3 separate regions of the Homo sapiens genome follow, and regions 2 and 3 are each linked to region 1. Evidence: promoter capture Hi-C in 16 types of primary human blood cells and fetal thymus (Javierre and others, 2016). All regions are on one chromosome and are shown on one strand. The core of a region is centred on a gene start or on the middle of the fragment in contact, and the rest is flanking DNA. Distances in the headings are between cores, read along the strand shown. Region 1 holds the start of DDX25-AS1 (DDX25 antisense RNA 1). Region 2 overlaps FAM118B (family with sequence similarity 118 member B). Region 3 overlaps RPUSD4 (RNA pseudouridine synthase D4).

The links. Contacts are between HindIII fragments. The CHiCAGO score rates a contact against its expected background, and 5 or more counts as called.
Region 2: a fragment that was not itself captured here is called in contact with the fragment with the promoter of DDX25-AS1 in region 1 in 1 of 17 cell types (naive CD4 T cells); the score reaches 5.4 in naive CD4 T cells.
Region 3: a contact is called between a fragment that was not itself captured here and the fragment with the promoter of DDX25-AS1 in region 1, in 7 of 17 cell types (naive CD4 T cells, non-activated CD4 T cells, total CD4 T cells and 4 more). The highest score is 11.5, in naive CD4 T cells.

Annotation. Positions count from the first base shown.
Region 1 is chr11:125,937,099-125,940,695 of GRCh38, forward strand. It overlaps DDX25-AS1 (DDX25 antisense RNA 1), which reads right to left and starts at 1,944. Exons shown (of 4, transcript NR_199024.1): 1 at 1,588-1,944. The HindIII fragment of the contact is 1,410 bases long and covers 1,802-3,211 here.
Region 2 is chr11:126,217,378-126,220,974 of GRCh38, forward strand. All of the region lies in intron 1 of FAM118B (family with sequence similarity 118 member B), which reads left to right. Among named protein-coding and RNA genes, the nearest start is that of FAM118B, 7.4 kb to the left of the region's middle. The HindIII fragment of the contact is 255 bases long and covers 1,692-1,946 here.
Region 3 is chr11:126,201,040-126,204,636 of GRCh38, forward strand. It overlaps RPUSD4 (RNA pseudouridine synthase D4), which reads right to left. Exons shown (of 7, transcript NM_032795.3): 6 at 3,192-3,289; 7 at 1,057-2,618. The coding sequence ends at 2,379. Among named protein-coding and RNA genes, the nearest start is that of RPUSD4, 8.8 kb to the right of the region's middle. The HindIII fragment of the contact is 2,886 bases long and covers 105-2,990 here.

The DNA.
Region 1 (3,597 bases), core at 694-3,193:
TTTTTTTTTGTCTTTTGTCTTTTGAGACAAAATCTCACTCTGTTGCCCAGGCTAGAGTGCAGTGGTGCGATCATAGCTCACTGCAGCCTTGATCTCCTGGGTTCAAGCCATCCTCCTACCTCAGCCTCCCGAGTAGCTGGGACTACAGGCATGCGCCACCATACCCGGCTAATTTTTGAATTTTTTGTAGAGACGGGGTTTCGCCATGTTCCCCAGGCTGGTCTGGAACTCCTGAGCTCAAGCGATCTGCTCACCTTGGTCTCCCAAAGTGCTGGGATTACAGGTGTGAGCCACTGCACTCAGCGGTATCTTTTTTTTTTTTTTTTTTTTTTTTTTTTTTGTGAGACGAAGTCTCGCTCTGTTGGCCAGGCTGGAGTGCAGTGGCGAAATCTTGGCTCACTGCAACATCCACCTCCTGGGTTCAAGCAATTCTCCTGCCTCAGCCTCCTGAGTAGCCGTGACTACAGGCACGTGGCACCATGCCTGGCTAATTTTTGTATTTTTAGTAGAGATGGGGTTTCACTATGTTGGCCAGGCTGGTCTCAAACTCCTGACCTCATGATCCCAGCGGTATATTTTATCTTTCTAAAATTTAAGCTTCTTATGTCTCTCTTTTCATCTGTAGCTTCTGAATTTTCTACTTTATTTAGAAAAATCTCTTCAAACTCTAGATCATATATTCTAATATTTTTCCTCATGAAACTGTTTTAAATGTTATATTTAAATCTTTCGGATCTGAAATTTTGTTTTAATAACTTAATGAGGTAGAGGTCGTAACCTTTTTTTTTCATTCAGACATAGAGTCAACTGTGCCTATACAATTTATTAAAGAAACCATAGTTTGAATCCACTGGTTTGAAATACCACCTTTATTGTACCCTATAATCCATACGCACGGGGATAAATTTCTGAACTTTGTTCTATTTCTGCCCTATGGGGCTATTTATCTTGTCCTGTACTTTTAATGTACGATTTGATCCCAGTAACTTTATAGTTTTCCTTAGGCCACTTGTAATATTTCTTTGCTGCTGTTGTTTTCATCATTACCATTAAAAAATTCCTTCCAGCTATCAGAGCCTGTGAATGTCAGTAACTTCAAAACAGGCCAGAATAAAGCCAAGAAGGGGAGGGATGGGCCTGTCCCTTACCTGTCCATGTGCCTTTTCAGGAATCAGCTGAGGCAGTGGCCAGACAACAACATTAGGTGAGCACCCACTACGCATTCAGCATTGCTCTTACCACTAACGACAAAGCTGGAAGACCAGAACTTCCAGCAATGGGGTAACAAGGTTCTTATTTCTCAGCTCTGGACCTGTATCTTCTGCAGCCAGTTTTGCGATGTTGGGCTTGGACCCTACCAACTCCATTTCTGTTTTGCCAGTCACTAGAGGGAGGCTGCAGGCGGGACAGGAAGTGTGGACAGGCTCCTTCCTGTTTGCATCTGTGTGTTCCCTGTGAGGGCACCCCAGCAACACATCTTCACCCCAGGAACAGCAGGCCCCTCCTGGAGCAGCACCTGATCCAGTTTGCAGTGTTCCCAACACTTGCAGCTCCATCATCCACCCCACCCCAGCCCTGCATCCCTACCTGAGAGACCCCAGCACCAGCTGGCAGGTGCCCCTTCCGCAGAGGTCTGGGTGCAGGAGTCCTTTCTTCACACCCGGAGACCCCAGCTCCCGCTGAGTTGAGCCCCCTCCTCAGATGTCTGGGTCACAGGCTCTGGAACCCTCCTTCAAAACTCTTCCTTAGGGTTCTCCAGCCCTGGAGTGGTAGCTGCTCCTGCAGGTGCAACCCCCATGAAAGCTTACTCTTCTCTCTCCTTACCCTCTCCTTACCTAATTAACAACTTCATACCTCATTATCAGTTCCTTATGCTGAATTCTCTTTTCAAACTAACTGGTGTGGTTTCTGTCTCCTGATTGAACCCCAGCTGACACAGGTAATGAGGAATTGAAGTTTTCTGGGAAGTGAGGGCTGCCTCTCTTGGCCGCCCTGCTGAGAGCTCCCTTCCCTCCTCCATTCCCAGAATTATTTGGCTGCTGGTCGCCAAGGAGACGACTGACAATTTCCAGTTGCCAAGCCTCACCCTGGAGCTCTACAGAGACATTATGGAAACTCCCCACTCCTTCCTGCTCCTCAGCCAGGGAACTTGGAGAATCTAGCCAGGTTGGGTGGAGGGCACTGGGAGGGGATAGAGAGGAGGTGACAAGCCTGAAGATGGAGAGAGCAGCTAGAAGTTTCCCTGGGCCCTGGCTTCCCCAACAGACCTCAAAAGTCTGGCCCACCCTTGAAGGCTAGGGCTGGCCTGGTGGGCATCCCCTGTGCTGGGTCCAGACAGACTCCTACCAGGGACCTCCAACCAGACCCTCAACTACAGAGAACTGTCCCTATATTGTCATTCCCGGCCTGGTAGCAGCACTGTTGCCAGATGGGGCAGAACCCAGGAAGAACCTGGGAACTGAAGGGCTAGGAGTCTTTCCTGGGGGAAGGAACTGCAGCTGTCCTGAGCACTTTGCTCATATCAGACAGCACTCAAATGCACTGAGGCCTAGTGTCACAGCCCGGGAAACAGCAACAACAGCAACGCTAATAATAATAATCGTAGTGGTGCAGTAGGTGTGACTCTTACTCTATAAACTTAGGTGCACAAAAATATCCATTTCTCTATTTCACTAAAATCAAGTAGAGTTGAGTTCATTCCTGGGGCTCCTGCCTTTTTCCAGCGTCCCACCAGAACCCGGGGGCTTATTGCTATGGTTTAAATGTGTCCCCAAAATTCAGGTGTTGCCAGTGTGGTAGTATTAAGAGATGGGGTCTCCAAGAGGTGGTTGGGCCACGAGGGCTCCTCCCCTGTGAATGGGAGTAGCTGCCCTTATAAAAGGGCTTGACAAAGGGAGTTTATCCCTTTTTGCCCTTCTGCCTTCCACTATGTGGGGACATGGCCTTCGTCTCCTCTGGAAGATGCAGTGACAAGGCGCCATCTTGGAAGACAACAGCTCTCACCAGACACCGGACCTGCTGGAGCCCCGGTCTTGGACTTCCCAGTCTCCAGAACTGTAAGAAAATAAATTTCTGTTCTTTATAAATTACCCAGTCTCAGGTATTCTAGTATAGCCACACAAATTGACTAAGAAACTTAGGAGGGATGAAACCAAGGGAAGGCCTCTAACTGCTGGTCCATCGTGGTGGTTGTTGGCCTGCTCGTTGTCCAAGCTTTCTGTGGGCCTGTGCAGTCAGCAATAGCTCTCCAGTCCTGTACGCTCTGGGGTCCTGGCCTGCTGTCTCCAGACTCTTCTTCTCCCAGGTACCTAGTGACCTCTGAACTGTCCCCAAACTCAGGGAAATCTCTTCCTCTCTGCTCTAACTGCCCCCAAAGGCACTCTCCTTTCTCCATCTCACCCCTTCCACCACCCGGCATACCTCACACAACTTTTACAAAATTAGGAAGATGTTAATGTACAGCTTCTTCCCTGCAAGAATCCCCATGGCAATGCAGGGCTAGAGGCCTGGTGAAAGCAGCTTCTGGTCTGTTTTTGCGTAGTAGTTTAAGGTAAGCTAAAGACATCGGGACATCTCATTGCTGAGTGTTTTAGTATT
Region 2 (3,597 bases), core at 569-3,068, 280 kb after region 1:
GTTCTATTGTAATTTTTTGCTAAAACAGGTAGCTTTTATGTACTTACACCTCTGTCAAATACTGTTCACTGTTGAGCTGGATGATCTATTACAGTGTGTTCCTCCTGGTGTGTAGGTTGGCCTTCACCTGTGTTTTTCATGTACCTACTGTTAATTTTTTTCCCACATGCTCCAATGTATTTGTCACATTCTTATCAGTAACATTTTCTGTGAGCTCAAATGTATCACCTGTTTATTGGAGCCCTGCCCCCTCCTCCTGCCTTTACTGTTGCTCTCAAGAACTGCTGCCTGGGGTCCTCCTGGACCTGCCCTTTCCTGTGCAGGAACCGTATCTTCCTCTTTCTGGGCTTATGTCTTTATTTTTTAAAAGCATATACTTCAGTTATTTCTAAGAAGTATTTGAATGACCTGGTTTTGCCCACACACTTGTTTGATAGTTTGGCAGTTATATAATTCTAGATTGGAAATAAGGTTCTCTCAGAATGTTGAAGGCATCTGTAATTGCTCTAGAGATGTGGTGATTTAAATCCTTCTTACGTGACCGTATTTTGTTTGTTTTCTCCCCTTCTGGAAGCTTTGAGGATATTCTCTATCTCTGGTGTTCTGCAGTTTTATGATGTGTATTAACACCAGGGTATGGGTCTTTTACTCAGCTGTTGTGCTGGCTTCTCACAGACGGTTTTGATTCTGGAAATTCACGTCCTCTAGTTCCGGGATGTTTTCTTGTACTATTTCTGTGATTTTTTGCTCAATCTTTAATTTTTCTTTGATACCTTTTTGTAATATCCATTCTTGTTATGTGGATATGGTGGGCTCAGAGGGCCCGCTGGAGTATTTGAGTTTTCTTCCTCTCTGCACAGGCTCCACTTCCTTCAGGTGATGTGGGCCTTTGCACCTGTGCCTCTGTCTGGATGTGTCTTCCCTCAGATATCCAGCGACTTGCTCCCACACCTCACTTTGGATGAATCCACAAGTCTTTCCTTAAATGTCACCTCAGTGAAGAGAGCACTGGATTGAGAAGTGCAGACCCCCATCTCACTTCCCTGCTTTGTTTCTCTCCAGAAGCATTTCCCACCATCTAGCATCCCACATATTTATTTACTTGTTTCCCTCACCACTAAAATAAACATTCTATGAGGGCAGGGATTTTGGGTTTTTTTTTGTTTACCTCTATAATTCCAGCCTCTGAAACAGTGCCTGGCGATGAATAGATGCTTAATAACTTAAGGAATAAATGAATTATTTTATTGTGGGATTTCTTTGAATGTCTCATGATTCTGACTGTTCATTTCTGTTTTGTTTTTTGTTATTTTAAGTTCCCAGCGTGGGTCTTGTTGGGTGGTGGCCATTACTATAGGGTGGCTGGTATATATGGATTTTGTGTGTATGTTTGTACAAATGTATATGTTTGCTAATATTTCTTTAGCTGACAGTGCATTGGTTGCTGGGACAAGGATGGAGGCTTGGAGAACCTTTTAGTATGCATCTTTTGACATAATCTGTATTTTCAGTTCTTCATTGCTCCTGCTGATGTATTTTACTCCAGACCCATTTCAGATTTCGGTTCATTTTTCTTTAAACCTCTGGATTTGGGGGTGGAGAAAATAGATGAAAATAGGAGGTGAGGAAGAGAATTTGCGCATTAGTTAAATAGACTTTATGCCAATCCGTATTTTCAGATCTGCATTTAAAGCTTGCTTTCCATCTCCAAAAATTCATTGAAAAATTGAATGCTTATCTCCTGCACCTCACATTCTTGGTTTTATACCTTGAAAAAAGAAAAACTCCTCTGTTGCCATTTTAATAGCGTACTTTGAAAAAGATTAAGAAGTAAACACGTAAGGACAGAAGTTATCATGTTTTATATTCTTAGTGTCATGGAATGCAGCACAGGAATATCACATAAGGAAAAGCACAGATTTCTTGTTTTCCTCGTTTATTTTGGAAGCTTATCCTTCAGCTCTTGTTTATCTTTTTTTTTTTTTTTTTTTTTTTTTTTTTTTTTTTTTTTTGAGAGTCTCTCTCTGTTGCCCAGACTGGAGTGGGCATGATCATGACTCACTGCAGCCTCGACCTCCTGGGTTCAAGCAATCCTCCCACCTCAGCCTCCCAAGTAGCTGGGACCATAGGCATATGCCACCACATCTGGCTAAGTTTTTTATTTTTGTAGAGACAGGGTCTCCCTATTGTTTATATGCCTTAAGAGTCAAATTAACAGAGTACATAAGAAACACTCTCTTTTTAGCTCTCTTGCTAAGGAGCAGGTTTGAGATCTGTTGCCAGAACTTAGTACTTCGCAGTTTTATGGATTCCTCAGGAGTCTCGTCCATGGGGCTGGGGCGTGGCTACCCTCTGCTGACTCTTCCTAGGTTCCTGCTCTTCCCCAGCACCTCCCTACCCCCAGCCACTAGAAATAGACTGCTTCTTTCTTTCTTCTACTGCAGAAAACATGCACTACTGTACTTATTAAAATTAACTTAAAAAAAAAAAAAAAGCAGCTCGAGCTGCTTGAGTTTTTTTTTTAAGTTAATTTTAATAAGACATTGAAGGAAGAATTTTTTTTAAAGGGGGGGCTTATATGTATGGAGATTTATGGTGTGAAAGCAGGGGCAAACTCTAATGAATGAAGTTTTTAGAATTGATATGAACATGAACCCAAGATACTCAGACTTATTCCGAGAGTTCCTCTTAAAAACTGCTTTTCTCCACATAAATCCGAATGTCAGCAGTGGTTAGCTCCACGTTGGAGGAAGGGGGGCTTCATTTTGCTCTTTCTGCATATTTCCTGCAGTGATCTGTTACTTTCAAATCTGGGGGAAAGGTGCTCTCTTTTTCTGAATGAAGTCTCCACCTGCCTCCCTTGGGCCCAGGCTGCCCAGCTTTCTGGCTGCTCCCTGAGAGTCCTCCTTGGTCTTCCACTGACCTCCTTCACTTCCTTATGAAAGTATGTTTTTAGTCTCCCTAACCTGCTTTCTGTTTTCTCTCTCTCTCTTTTTTTTTTAATACCCTCAATTGTTTTCACTGGCCACTTTTTTTTTAAGACTGATGCTTGGCTGGGCTTGGTGGCCCATGCCTGTAATCCCAACACTTTGGGAGGCCAGGGCAAGAGGATTGCTTGACAAGGCCAGGAGTTCAAGATCAGCCTGGTCAACATAGCAAGAGCCCATCTCTACAACAAAATTTAAAAATTAGCCAGGTGTGGTGGTGCGCACCTGTAGTCCCAGCTGCTTAGGAGGCTGAGATAGGAGGATCCCTTGAGCCCCAGAGTTTGATGCTGCAGTGAACCATGATCTTGCCGTCCTGGGGAACAGAGCAAGACTGTCTCAAACAAAAAAGACTGATGCTACCTGCTTGGCAAAACCATGTTTTTAGAGCTATTTCTCCTAAGAAACCTGGTCTTTGTAGTTGTTCTGATGGCTTCTGTGACAAATAATGCCTTTTTTTTTTTAAGAGCTTTCAGATTCTTATTTCAGATCTAAACAGTGCTTTTCAGCTCTCAGTTCATCTTCAGATCAAAGAGAATAGTAGGCCGGGCGCAGTGGCTCATGCCTGTAATCCCACCACTTTGAGAGGCCAAGGCATGTGGATCGCTTGAGG
Region 3 (3,597 bases), core at 298-2,797, 260 kb after region 1:
GCGGGGCACAGAGCCGCTGACCTCGGCTTGAGAAGGGTCTGGGAAGGTGCAGCAGGGCAGACATCTGCCCCAGTCTCCAATGTGGTGACCCCATATCCCAGGGAAGCTTAGGAATTCTCAAAAAGTCAACTGTCACTAGCTTGGTAGCTCCCAGTTCAGCAACCAACACAAAACCCAGCACTGAAGTGCTAAAGAATCACGAAGAACAGTAGGGCAGCATTTGTGACAAAGCCGGGCAGACAGAACGACACAGCTGGTTCTCAGTCTAGCTCCAACGTGCCCGCCTGGGGAACAACAGTCCCGCCTCACACTTACTTGTCAGTAAACCACACAGCTAACTGAATTTTCCCAGCTAAAGAGAGCTCCCTGAGATGAGTGAATATCCCCAGATACCTTCAGCCTAGTAAATATTCAGTTTGCCAAATTAAAGACTAGATTTACATCTTGGAGGAGACCATATTTATATATGAGAATATAAATCATCTGTTACTTCTCCAAAATGTATCCTGACTAGCTCCTACTTTTCTACATTTTCCAGTTCTTTTATTTCCATCATCTGTTCCTCTAAGATTGTTCTCCTTTTTGTGAGACAGGGTCTCACTCTGTCACGAGGCTGGAGTGCAGTGGCACAATCATGGCTCACTACAGTCTCAACCTCCTGGGCTCAGGTGATCCTCCTAGCTCAGCCTCCTGAGTAGCTGGGACCACAGGTGTGCGTGTGCCAACACACCCAGCTAATTTTTGTATTTTTTGTAGCAACAGGGTTTCACCACGTTGCCCAGGCTGGTCTCGAATTCCTGGGCTGAGGTGATCCGCCCGCCTCGGCCTTTTCGGCCTCTCAGAGTGCTGGGATTATAGGTGTGAGCCACCGCGCCCAGCCTCTTCTCCATTCTTGTGGGTATTCCTGTTCATCTGTTTCCCTGAATTAATGTCAATTATCACTATTTCCTAAGTGTCACATTCTTGTTCCTTTTTCTTGACTAGCATGGTTTACTAGAAACAGAAATAACAGCAAAAATATTTAGGTCTTATATAAACAAATATAGTCATCTCGTCTGTGCTTTCAAAGTTAAATTTATTATGCACAGTAATGGGTACCATGGAGACAGGGAAAGGGCTAGAAAGTGGCATCATCTATACAGAGGGAACATATAAAGACTGTCCCGGGGTGTACCCCCCTAACTGTGCTGTCACTCCAACTCTGTCAGAAAGAAAAAGTAGTGTGAGGTGTATTTGTTTGCAAGAAACAAGGTGGAAACTAGATGGACCAGCTGAGCAGGGAGGCCAAGGTCATTTCCATCTATCCCTAATGGTGTTCAGTATAGCCCTCTCCTTCCTGAGACCTAAGAACAGAAGATACGCTTCCACAACAGAGATTTTTGATTTTTTAATGGCAGCACTCTCATAACTACATTCACGGACCAACCAAAGCCATCTCCAAGCCTAGAAAGGATACATACTACACGCAGCGAAAATGCCAACCACTGATCCAGAATTTTCAAGATGGCACCTTTCCCCAAACTTCTATACCATTCATTAAACATAGACTGCAAACTGCTAGCCTGTAGACCAAATTCAACCTCTAAGTATTATTTGCTTAGGTGCCTAAGCATCTTTAAAAATTTGATTTAGTTGGCAATACACTGGGAGGTTTCACATAAATATCTAGGTTTCCAGCTTCTCTGAAGAAATGAGAAAATCCATTCCCACATGGCAACAACCAGCTGGAGCTAACAGCTGTTAGACAGCATGCCGCTCCCCGCTACTGCCTTACACCCAGCCAGCTTCATGTGTGCATGTTATCTGCCTGCCATTCACATCGGTTCTCCTTGCTCAGCAAATGTCCCACCTCAACCTCACACTCAATACCCTTATACAGGTTCCCTAATCAGAGTTCAGTAGGGCACCCACACTATAGCTGGGCAATCCCTGGATGCTGTGATATTTGTTAACCATTATGTTCTTTCCAACCACGGGAACCTTCCTAAGAGCTCAAGAGCTTCACTGCTGGATAAAAACAGTTCCTGATCCCGGATTCTGACCTTTAGTTTTCCTTTTCCAGTCACTGCCCCAGTCTGCCTGGCCCTGGGCTCTGTTCCATATTGGCAATGAGAGCCCACGGCAGGGAGACTTCCAGCAGGCTTTTCCACAGTGCAGCCAAACTATCAGTAAATAGACTTTGTTCTCCATTAAAAGCCCTGTAGCAGCTGAGTTGCTTTACCTTATCCCACCTGGCTCTTACGCAGTCTGTTCCAAGTGAGAAGTTAGCAGAGTCCTGTAAACAAAGAACAGTTCAGGGGCCAACCTGCGCTCCCAGGTGCCAGGATGCTCTCAGGGTCTTCACTGTGCTCCCAGGTGCCAGGGTGCTCCCATGGTCTTCACTGTGCTCCCAGACACTTGGCTTCATTGTTCTCATTTTGATCCTCATTTGGCATCTCTAAACGCAGGCGGTGCAGGGAATGCACAAAGAAGCGAGGAAGTTTGCAGACCAAGTTGAGTTCCTCCTTCCCGGACCCCAGGGCAGGCAGGATCAGCTGCCGGGCGTGCAGGTGAAGGGGGATGTAGCGGGCCTTCGACTGTTCTAGCCCCAGCTTCTTCAGGGTGCCCACAGACAGCTTCTATACAAAGAAAGGACAGACCCTTGAGAGCAAGGCCAACAGTCCACCCTTGACGAACATGCAAGGTCAGGGCACTTCTACTTACAGGGAACCAAAACTAACCCCCTGGAAGACACAGTAATGGAGAGTCTGCTTCAGTGGCATGTCTAAGAACGGCTCAGAACTCAGGTAAGGGAAAAATGACCACACCAAGACATTCTTTTTGGCCAGTGCTTTTTGGCCTAACAAGAGAATGGGCTGTGGTATAAGGATGAAAAGGCTTTCCCTGCGGTTTTTTAGTAGCACCATGAAAAGCTGCTCCCAGCCTTCAGAAACACCCCTCCCCTTGTCCACAGCCTCCCAACAAAATCTGAATAAACAAATGTAACAGTAAGCTTTTCACTAACAGATCCTGCAGTTCCACAAGGACAGTAACCAACTGCTCCTAAATTTCTCTAAAATCAAGATAATGAGCTTGGTATCATGTCTGAAGACAATCAGTAGGCTTTGTTGTAACTCATTTCAGAGTTTTAAGAAAAGGAACGCCTAAGTTCTCTCCCGTATCTGCTGCACATTGGGTCAAATTAGTATTACCTGGGGGGCCAACCTATTCCAGTCTGAGTACTTGTGATCACCAAGGATTGGACAATCCAATCCAAAAGACAAGTGAACTCGAAGCTGATGTTTTATTCCTTAAAAGAGAGAGAGAGAGAAAGAGAGAAAACTCGTGAGGAGCTACAGAAACAATACCAGTATTGGCATCTGCTTCAAATCGTGTTACATCAAAGTGCAGTAAACTGGCCAAGTCCCAACTATAATAAAGTATAACGAATAATATAGCAAACTATAAGTTATGTAGCACCAGCCAGTTTAGGAAGTAAACGCCGTAAATACTCTAAGTACCTCTCCCCACCACAATTCCCTCTTTCCACCATAGATAACCATTATCATGAACTTGCCGTCTACCATTACCCCAACTTTTTAGTAATTTTACTACATA